Linked DNA regions of Homo sapiens: regions 1 and 2 are each linked to region 3. The links are contacts of gene promoters, found by promoter capture Hi-C in blood cells and fetal thymus (Javierre and others, 2016). All regions are on one chromosome and are shown on one strand. Each heading gives the region's core, a stretch centred on a gene start or on the middle of the fragment in contact. The rest is flanking DNA. Distances are from core to core; before and after follow the strand shown. Region 1 has its middle 31 kb from the start of DNAH7. Region 2 holds the start of RFTN2 (raftlin family member 2). Region 3 holds the start of PGAP1 (post-GPI attachment to proteins inositol deacylase 1).

Evidence for each region. Contacts are between HindIII fragments. The CHiCAGO score rates a contact against its expected background, and 5 or more counts as called.
Region 1: a contact is called between a fragment that was not itself captured here and the fragment with the promoter of PGAP1 in region 3, in 1 of 17 cell types (neutrophils). The highest score is 6.2, in neutrophils.
Region 2: a contact is called between the fragment with the promoter of RFTN2 here and the fragment with the promoter of PGAP1 in region 3, in 3 of 17 cell types (neutrophils, fetal thymus and M0 macrophages). The highest score is 7.9, in neutrophils.

The regions. Positions count from the first base shown.
Region 1 is chr2:196,098,749-196,101,892 of GRCh38, reverse strand. No RefSeq gene overlaps it. Among named protein-coding and RNA genes, the nearest start is that of DNAH7, 31 kb to the right of the region's middle. RefSeq lists enhancers at 301-400, 671-820, 841-930. The HindIII fragment of the contact is 5,493 bases long and covers 1-3,144 here.
Region 2 is chr2:197,674,285-197,677,565 of GRCh38, reverse strand. It overlaps RFTN2 (raftlin family member 2), which reads left to right and starts at 1,979. Exons shown (of 9, transcript NM_144629.3): 1 at 1,979-2,246. The coding sequence starts at 2,108. The HindIII fragment of the contact is 18,558 bases long and covers 1-3,281 here.
Region 3 is chr2:196,924,974-196,928,005 of GRCh38, reverse strand. It overlaps PGAP1 (post-GPI attachment to proteins inositol deacylase 1), which reads left to right and starts at 1,299. Exons shown (of 27, transcript NM_024989.4): 1 at 1,299-1,536. The coding sequence starts at 1,390. RefSeq lists a silencer at 1,101-1,350. The HindIII fragment of the contact is 4,012 bases long and covers 16-3,032 here.

The DNA.
Region 1 (3,144 bases), core at 325-2,824, 830 kb after region 3:
CCCCAAGGTCTCTCCTGCTGTGCATAACTAATAGGCCCTGTGACTGCTTACTGCTGTGATGCAGAACAGACTTCACAGGTGCTCCTCGGCTGGGACTGGTGTGGCAGCGTGGGAGGCAGGGGCATACTGTCACTATGACTGAGCAGAGTATTATTGGAAATGGTGTTTGACTCCCTTCTTATTGGTGCAACTCAAAAGGGCAATGTAGTAAACAGTTCCAGACAAATTTGAAGACAAGATGTTTTTCATAAGGAAGGAAAAAATTCTCACAACAAGCCAAATGTGCATCTTTTCAGATAGGAGCCCTTCATATTCACTGGAATTTCTTAAAAAGTAACTTTCCACATATTTCCCCCAAAATAACCTATTTCACTAAGAGTAAAGCACGTGGCACCTAATTTATCTTCCCTGAACAGAGTAGAGCTGAGTCACTGACACAGAACTGAAACCTTCGCACCCAAGCAGGCTCAAGGGACTGAGCCAGAACTGATTCTCAGATAGCTCAACCCTCCCTCCCTCTCCCACAATAAAGGTTCATATCAAAATCACACTCTGAACATCTGACTCATATCTTGTGATTATTGAACATACTCCTCCTGTACCAATGTTCCTGTGGACATTTGACCATTTCCATGTTCATTTCTTAGGGAAAACAGGATTGTTTAGCTGGAGGTTGAATCAAATAGATATACATATTGAAACCAAGTGTCCTCTCTTGCTGTCTGAACATCCAAACAAAGCTAGGAGCAGCCCCCTTACCATTAATCAAGGACCAGATAAACAGCTATCTGCTGAAGAGGACTTCTGCAGCAATGGCTTAGCCCTCACCTCTGGCACAAGGAAGGATGGATGGGTGGGCTGCAATTAGTTGGCATGTTCAAAATAAGAGACAAGTGGCAGGGAACACCTCTTGGTTTGACTTCAGCTTGCATCACTGTGGCTCTTGACTGCCATTTCTACTTTTCCTGTGTAGATCGAAAGCTCTAATCCTTACCCCTAGTAAGTGCAATAGTGCCCTTTGTACAGTTGGAGACCTCCACCTCCTAGTTTGAGCCAGAATGTGTTCTGTGCGTAAATACATTACATGGAGTCCAAGAGATTTCTTTCTTTCTTAATTTACACATAATAATTGTACATATTCATGGGGTATGTAAGGATGTTTTGATACATATAATGTATGATGATTAGATCAGGGTAATTAGCATATCCATTATCTCAAACATTTATCATTTCTTTGTGTTGGGAACATTCAATATCCTTCCTTCTAGCTATTTGAAACTACATATTGTTAACTGTAGTAGTCCTACAGTGGTATAGAACACTAGAAACGTATTCCTCCTCCCTTGCTCTGATTCTGTAACCCTTAACAAATCTCTCCCTAAAGGTTTCTGTTAACTCCTAATAAATGATCGCGTGGGTTGGCAGAGTCAAGAATGAGGTTAAATGGAGAATTCTTGGCCTGAGGACTATGAATTCCTTTTTTTTTTTTTTTTTTTTTTTTGGCCCATTTGGTTCCACGTGTGCCTCCAGATCTCTGGTGCTGTGGAGCAGTGACTGTGCTGTGTGCTGCACACCTCACTCTCTTGCCGCTTTCCCTGGTCTCCATCAGGACTTTACCAAAACACTCAAGTGCTGTGGCATCTGAGAATGTCCCTCTATGCACTGTCTGTCCATATAGTGAGATAAGGGAGGTGCTGGAAACAATTGTTCTCTTCCTCTATGATTCCTGCAAGTATTGTTTTGCAATTGTGCTGCCCGCCTTGAAAATCACATGGTGCCCCACTGGCAGCTTTATGATCATTTCTCTAAATGAAAGTGAGAGGTTATCGAATTTGTCTAGTTTAGTGTGAGTCACTTATATGCCTGGGAAATGAAGTCCTATCCTGTGTTATTGATACTGGAAGCTGCACAAAAGGAATGAGTCTCTGGAGTTTGGAACTCACCTCATGAATCTCACACCAACCAGTGCTGTCCTGGCTTTTCATTGGGATGGAATGAGAATCAAGTCCCCATGGTGGAGGTTATCGTGAAAACCCCAGATTTTAATAGAGAGGTAATTTGAGTACATAACATATTGAACTTGAATATTATGCACTTGAAGGAAAAATATTTCCTTTGTAGTGGGCAGCCTCTATTATGTTTTGGAGGAATTTTCCAGTAAATCATCTAACAGCTGCTTTACTGTATAGGCCTTGAAATTTTATCTGTTCATTGGTTACAGACACTTTTGCTTTTGGAAACTTCACATGCTTCTCTTTACCAGTAATATTTTGTTCCCAAAATATCGGCTCCTGGGGAGGATTTAATAAAGGCTGACCCAACAAGACATGTTTTTGAGCAAACCTTTTGGATGTCTTTGGCTAGGAACCATGTCCTATGTAAGTGTATTCTATGTAAGATTATTACTAAAAATCCAAAAAGCAACCTACAGATTTTGTGACAAAAAGAAAATGTTAACCATCTCTGAACATAAAGGCATTTTGCATCTGTGAATGTAGAAACAGTGATTATAGTGGGTGCTAGTAGAGGTATAGAATGTATGTGTGTGTTTTGGAGGAGTGGCAAGGAAGAAACAATGGGACAAGCATTGGCAAAAATATGGCTGGTGGAGATTCTTTCCTTCAGACTGCAGATTGAAGACACCCTTCACAGACAGGAGCCACTGAATAAACACCTCTGAAGAAGATAGAAAGAGAATAGCTTGCTAATGCCGTGCTAACTGAAGTGAGCCTGCAATTCTCAAAATATGATCCATTTGAGGGTTACCTGGAAGATGCTTATTCCAGAATAGAGGCATGATGTGTTGATTTTTGGAAGGGGCTCCTGGCCAACAGCAATTGAAAAACTGAAAAAAATGGAGGCTGAAAACTCACCAACCATGACTTCAGTTCATGGGGCACAGTCATTATCTATGCCCTTTAAGAAAGAAAGATTCCACATGGACAGTGTGTGAAGACAGTGGAGAGGGTGAAGGAAGAGCAGAAAGGTTTGCTCTAAGAGGCCCATCTGACACTGGTCACAGGTCAGTATAAGGCAGAAGAGAGGAGGGCAGGAGGCTTAGCTTGGAGTTGGTAAATGAAAGAGTTTTCAAGGAGATTTTCCAGTCATAAATTAGAGAGAACAAGAGCAGAAGAGGGGGCTATT
Region 2 (3,281 bases), core at 730-3,229, 750 kb before region 3:
AATAAAACATTTAAAGGCAAGGAGGCAGTAGGAAAAGAAAAAAGGTAATAGTGATCTATAAAATAAAGGATCCATCCCCCTTTTGAGAGTTTTCATGCTCAGGCTTCAATGTGATTGAAAAAATTTTTCAGGCTTGTATTCTCTAGAATCTCAACTGTGATAAGGGTTTATTTTGTAAATAATGGAAGCAGTGGCAGAATCACTTCCTTCCTATTCCTACTCCCAACCTGTTTTATAACGTACACGCATCAACAAATGTATTTTGTGCTATTAGCCAGGCCTAGTGTTAACATATGAGATAAGATTATCTCATTCAGCCTTCATAACAAGCCTATGTAGTAAGTACCATTTACAGGGGAGGAAGTTGAAACTTGAAGAGGTCAAGTAACTTGCCCAAGATTACATCTCTAGTAGGCCTAAGAAGCAGGATTTGAACCCAGGCAGCCTGATTCCAGGGCTCACAGTTTTGATGAGCGCACCATACTTCCTGACCTGTAAAGGGTAAAATACAATAAACGTTCATTACAATTGGTCCATTATAAATTATTCTTGACCTCCGGTAAATGGCAGTTTATAAGACTGAATGGCCCTGGTGCAGTGACTCACACCTGTAATCCCAGTACTTTGGGAAGCCGATCCAGAAGGATCACTTTAGCTGAGGATTTCAAAACCAGCCTGGGTGACATAGTGAGACCCTATCTCCACAAAAAAATACAAAAATGAGCCAGATGTGGTTGCATGTGATTCTGCCACTGCTTCCATTATTTACAAAATAAACCCTTATCACAGTTGAGATTCTAGAGAATACAAGCCTGAAAAATTTTTTCAATCACATTGAAGCCTGTGGTCTCAGCTACTTGGGAAGCTGAGGTGGGAAGATGGCTTGAGCCCGGGAGGTCGAGGCTGAAGTGAACCATGATTTTGCCACTGCACTCTAGCCTAGGTGACAGGCAAGACCACATCTCAAAAAAAAAAAAATTAAATGAATCAAGTTGTCAGTTTTGTTTTATTTTTTAATTAAGGATACTTTGAGACCTATAGAAGTATTAGTTGCTATCATAAGCCTTCTAATAGTAGAGTGTTTTAAACTATTTAAGGATGTTGGGGAAACTAATTACACACATAACTGTCTCTCCTTTGCAATTAAGTAAAGTCTTTTTTATAAAAATATTTTAATATAAATTTTTTATACTTTGCTGTTTTAATTAGCATATGATTTTTTCCAACAGAAAGAAACTTCATATGGAAAGAAATCCTCAAAAGTACTAACTAAAGACTTAAAGGGCTGTTTTTTTAAACTTTACTTTCCTCCTTTTAGACTCCAGAAATAGTTTCCTCATAAAGCTGACTTCCTTTCTGGAAATGATTTTTGTTTCTAAATATGTTGAGAATCCACTCTTTTCATTTTTCTCTTTCTTTCTTTCTCTCTCTCTCTTTCACTCTCTCTCTCTCTTTTTCCCTCTCTCTCTCTGTCTCTCTCTCCACCCCCCTACTGCCTCTCTCTCTCTCTCTCCTTTTTCTTTCTTGGTAGTAGTTGAGAGGAAGGAGGGTAGGCGCAGGACAGAGAGGAGAGGGAAAACAGAAAAAGAATTGTGTGCCACTATGTCTGAATATATCTTCTACTTGTAGATAATTACATCCAAGTTGCCCTTTTGCCTTTTTATTTCCGTTTTTGGACACCTCTTTTTATCATCCAGCCAACTGGAATAGACAAAGCACCGCTGGTGCCCTGAGCGACAGAACTCTGGTAGGGGGCTGGCTGTAAATTGACGTGGCATGGAAATTCTCCGCTAAGTTGTAGCAGCTTGCATGTTTCTCTAAGATCAAGCCCAGCCTCCTGGAGCTGTAGCTTAATCATGGGTTCAATGACTTTACAGAAAAATGGATAGAAAAATTCTTCAACTCCTTTCTTTGGACCCAGATGGTTTTTTTTGGGTTTTTTTTTTTTTTTTGGTTTTTGCTTTTTTTTTTTTTTTTGGTTATCTATAGTTTAGCTGAAAACAAAATCAAAGCAGTTAAGTCTGTAACTTTCTTTTTGCAGCTTAAACAACAGAATTTGCTGCTCTCCCTCCCCTTTCCTGCAATTTAATTCCTTACAGATTTTGCCATGGGGTGCGGACTTAGAAAGCTAGAAGACCCTGATGATAGCAGCCCTGGAAAAATATTTTCTACCCTGAAGAGACCGCAAGTGGAAACAAAGACAGAATTTGCTTACGAATATGTATTGCTGGATTTTACTCTACAAGGTACTTTTTGCTTCTATTTTGTTTGTTAAATGTTTCAGAGATGAGACTACTAGTCATTTTTAAGTGTTGACTTAATAAATTTTTAAACTGTTCTTCATAATGAGATTGTATATTCAAACAATAATGCTTCGCTTCTTAATTATACTTTGTAAGATTTTTGTTTTGTTGATTGCTTCGTATTTTGGTAACATGGCTCATATGTACCTTCTAAAATTAGGGAAATTGCTTGGAAATACTTCTTTCATTTTTAAATCAAATACTTATTTATAGAAGGATTTATGAAAAATGCTTGATTTCCAGGACAAATAGCTATATAGCCTTAGTGACAGTTTGTATTTTGAAAAAGATTTGAAAATCACAATAAGGTATTATGTAGTAAATATTACTTGCATCATATCGTGGAAGAGTGTTTGCTAAGACAATTCTGAGGCTTCCAATTGTGTTAGACTCTGTGATTATGGTAGTCATTTGATATTTTTGACCAAACTAAACTATAAGTTTTGAAAATGTAGTTAAAAAAAAAAAAAAGATAGCCTTCTGTAAGACACTTCCTTTGCTCAGTGCCCTGTCCCTAACAGAGAAACTCTCTGTTCCAGAAAGTTGGAAACACAAATAAACAAGCCCAGATGGCAGCTCTGTGGAAGGAATCGAGGTGGCTCGATTTCACAAATACTTTGCCTCATTTCTTTTGGAAACTTTAGAGTACTGTACAACTGCACAGACAAAGCAGCTTTTTAAAAAAGCTATATCTTTAATTATGAAGTAGTAAAAATGAAATTTAGAGTGCTTTGCTTGCTGTTAAAGTTATCAGATATTAGTAAAATTCTTATTATAGTTATATTTTTAATTCTAATGAGCCACACATTTTATCAATTCACAAAAAGTTTATACTAAATTATCATGTTGAATATTATCTTAATTTTTTTCCAAATTTTTTGTTTACACACATTCTTTTCTTTTTTTTTTTTTTTTTTTTTTTTGCTTTGCTCTAGAAACAGTGCATCTTTGTGCAAGAAGCAAGAGCAGCCCATTTTT
Region 3 (3,032 bases), core at 50-2,549:
GATAAACTATAAGCTTCCTTTTGGTTTTAAAATTCTTTGATTTTATGTATTGTAGCCAAACTTCCTCTGCACAGAAAATATACCAGAAAATCAGCCCAAGTTCAATGAAATTCATTTAGTGCCAAAGACCATTCTAAGAATCCTGTGGTTACTACACACACACGCACACACACACCGTCTACTGTTGAGTCAGCTTTAAAGAGTGATGTCTTTTTCCTAACATTCTAGTGTTTTGAAGCTGCTACAAGTGATTGATTTCGAGCTTTTTTTAAAAACTCCTCCTTTGTACAAAACAGAACCGAAATTCTTCAAAACGAATTAAGTCATTTGCGAGTTTGAATGGAAGCTGGACGAAATTGCCTCCTCCAGTTAACGTGGAACCCATTCCCCAAGAGATGGAGGTTCTGGAGAGCAAGGCGAGTCAGCGTCAAACTGATTACGCAGATACCTGTTGGGGACGTCAGTGCTAATAGATATTTTGGTAACATATTTTAAGGACTAACGATGCTTTTTGTGATTCAGGCTTTCATCTGATACCAAGAGCAGAATCTCGTCGGCTTGCGGGTGTTTTTTTTTTTTTTTTTTTTTTTTTTTTTAATGAGCCGGTGCTTTTAAGCGCTGTTACCTACTGGGCCCAAGTAGGCGGTAGAAGAGGGAAAATAAAGCCATTTGTTCCCTCTTCAAGCTAACTGCTCCAGAGAGCTGTGAGTGTGCTCTACTACCGTTGGGAAAACCGAAATTGCGGAGGCCTGAGTCTTTTCAAAATTGAACGGGAAGCGTTTTTAAACTGCCGCAGGGAGAGGCGTTTGCGAGGTGACAGCTGATGACCCCTGGGCTTTTAAGTCCTCCTCCCCTCTCTCGGTCCGCTCTCGGTCCTTAATCGCCTCTGGACTCTGGGCTCTAGTCCCCTCCCCAGATTCACCCATCTGACACCCGCCTCCTGCCCAATCCCCCGGCTCGTCTCCAGGGCTCCCGCGCTCCGCCCATCCCCCTCTGGATGCTTCCTCTCTCTCTCTTCTTTCCCTCCCGCCAGCCACTCCTCGCGTCTTTCTCTCCCCACTTCCCTTCTTTCCCCTCACCCTCCAGCCCAGCCCACCCTGCTTTCTCCCTCTTTCTCTTTCCCGTAGATCCGCGCTCGCGCTGCAACACCTACTCCTCCCTCGGCTCTGGGAGTCGCCAGGCCAGAGGCGCCGCGGACCTGGTGCGCGCAGGCGCACTGCGCGGCTGGCGAACGGGCAGGCCGGGCATCAGCGCAGGCGCGCGCGGCTGGGGCTCGGCTCCGGGGGTGGCGGTCGGACAGTGTCTAGCACGCTCAGTCCGGGCTTGGGGCCCCGCGGCGGAGAAGGAGGTAGAGGGGGCGGCGGCGGCGGCGGCGGTGGTGGCGGCACCATGTTTCTTCACTCAGTTAATCTCTGGAACCTGGCGTTTTATGTCTTCATGGTCTTTCTGGCAACCCTGGGGCTGTGGGATGTCTTCTTCGGCTTCGAGGAGAATAAGTGCAGTATGAGCTACATGTTTGAGTACCCGGAGTATCAGGTAAGGTTCTGCCCTCTCCTCAGCCGGGCGCTCCAAGACTCTGGCCCCTGGTGCCTTTTTCCTTCTGTGGGTTCGTCCTGCCTTGGCTCTCTGCGCCTCTCGGGCCCCCTGTCCCGTCCTCGCCTCTGTTTTCTCCGCCCGGGGAGACTCTGCATCCCCCTTCTGCCCCCCTCACCTCCCCTTTGTGTCCCTTCTTCACGGTGGGGTGTTTGTTAGACGATTTCCCGAGAGCATCCTCGTGGTCGTCCTCGTAGTTACTCCGCTGTCCCTCCGCCTCCTCCCCAGCCCCAAATCCTGGGCACAAGCTCTTCTGACTGGCCGGGCCCAGCCCCCCTCATGCCCAGAGAGGCAGCCTCAACCCTTCTCCCTAAACCGAAGCTCCATCCCTCTCGCGTTCTTGCCTTAACCCGTGCCCCAGGACCTTCCTTTGCTTCCCACGCGCCTAAATTCCCCTCGCGCCCGGTGATCTGCTCGTCAGATTTCGCATTTCTAGAAAGGGACCGAGCGTCTGCAGAGTGTATATTGGCTAGATAGTTCCCAAGGCTGTTTTTAGAGACTCCAGGGTTTTGCCTATGGGTAAACTGGCGAGTCATTGAATTGGAAACTAGATCCCCTCTTGGAAAGATGTTGCAGATCCTCTTATTTTGCAGGTTAAGGGGCCGTGCGTGTGTGGGCTTGCCTGTGTGTGTGCATACCTGTGTTTATGCATGTCTCTCAGCAGCCGAGCCTCTTAATAGTTGCATACAAAATCTATTTCATGGTGCTATTTTTGTTTTCTCGCTGGGTTCGGAGTTTAAGAGAGAGCCAACCCTTCTCTCTCCACCCCTACCGCTTCCATGCCATTTTGAATGTTTTCAATCAATGGCTTCGTTAGTTCGGCATAGTAGGATCTAGAATTTCATTCATGACTAGCTGTAAAAAGAGGCGCAGACAAATTACACAACTGTCCTAAGAGAATTTTTCCGAATGATTCTTTTATTTCTAAGTGCATCTCTTAATTATGGACTACCTATTGTAATAATTCCCTACCATAAAATGTATATGCACTATAACATATATTGATAAAATACATTTTTAGTATACTCTTAAAATCACAGCAGTTTTTTTTTTAGGGTGAAGGATGCAAGTCCTGATTGCTTCTTTGTACAAGTCATTATGGAGGAAGCCTGTTACTTGATTACGCTGCTATTATTTTGATCTTAAGACTACTTAAGGTTTAAATTGCTGAAGAGCATTCTTTCCCATGGGAAAAATTCTAGTAAATTTAGATTTCATTTGTGTTTAGATCCTTACCTTGGTTTTGCATTTATGATGATAAGAGAGTGGAAACATTTGGTAGGGATGCTATCGAAGGAGAAGATTTTGACATGTTACTGTCGTCTCTGTTCATTTCTAAGCAAACCTTTTTAGTTTAGTATTTTAAAAAACTGAAAATAGAGCTATTATAATTCCCTCCTTATTTTTGGTTTAATAATTAGGAAACTCCCAATAGATTG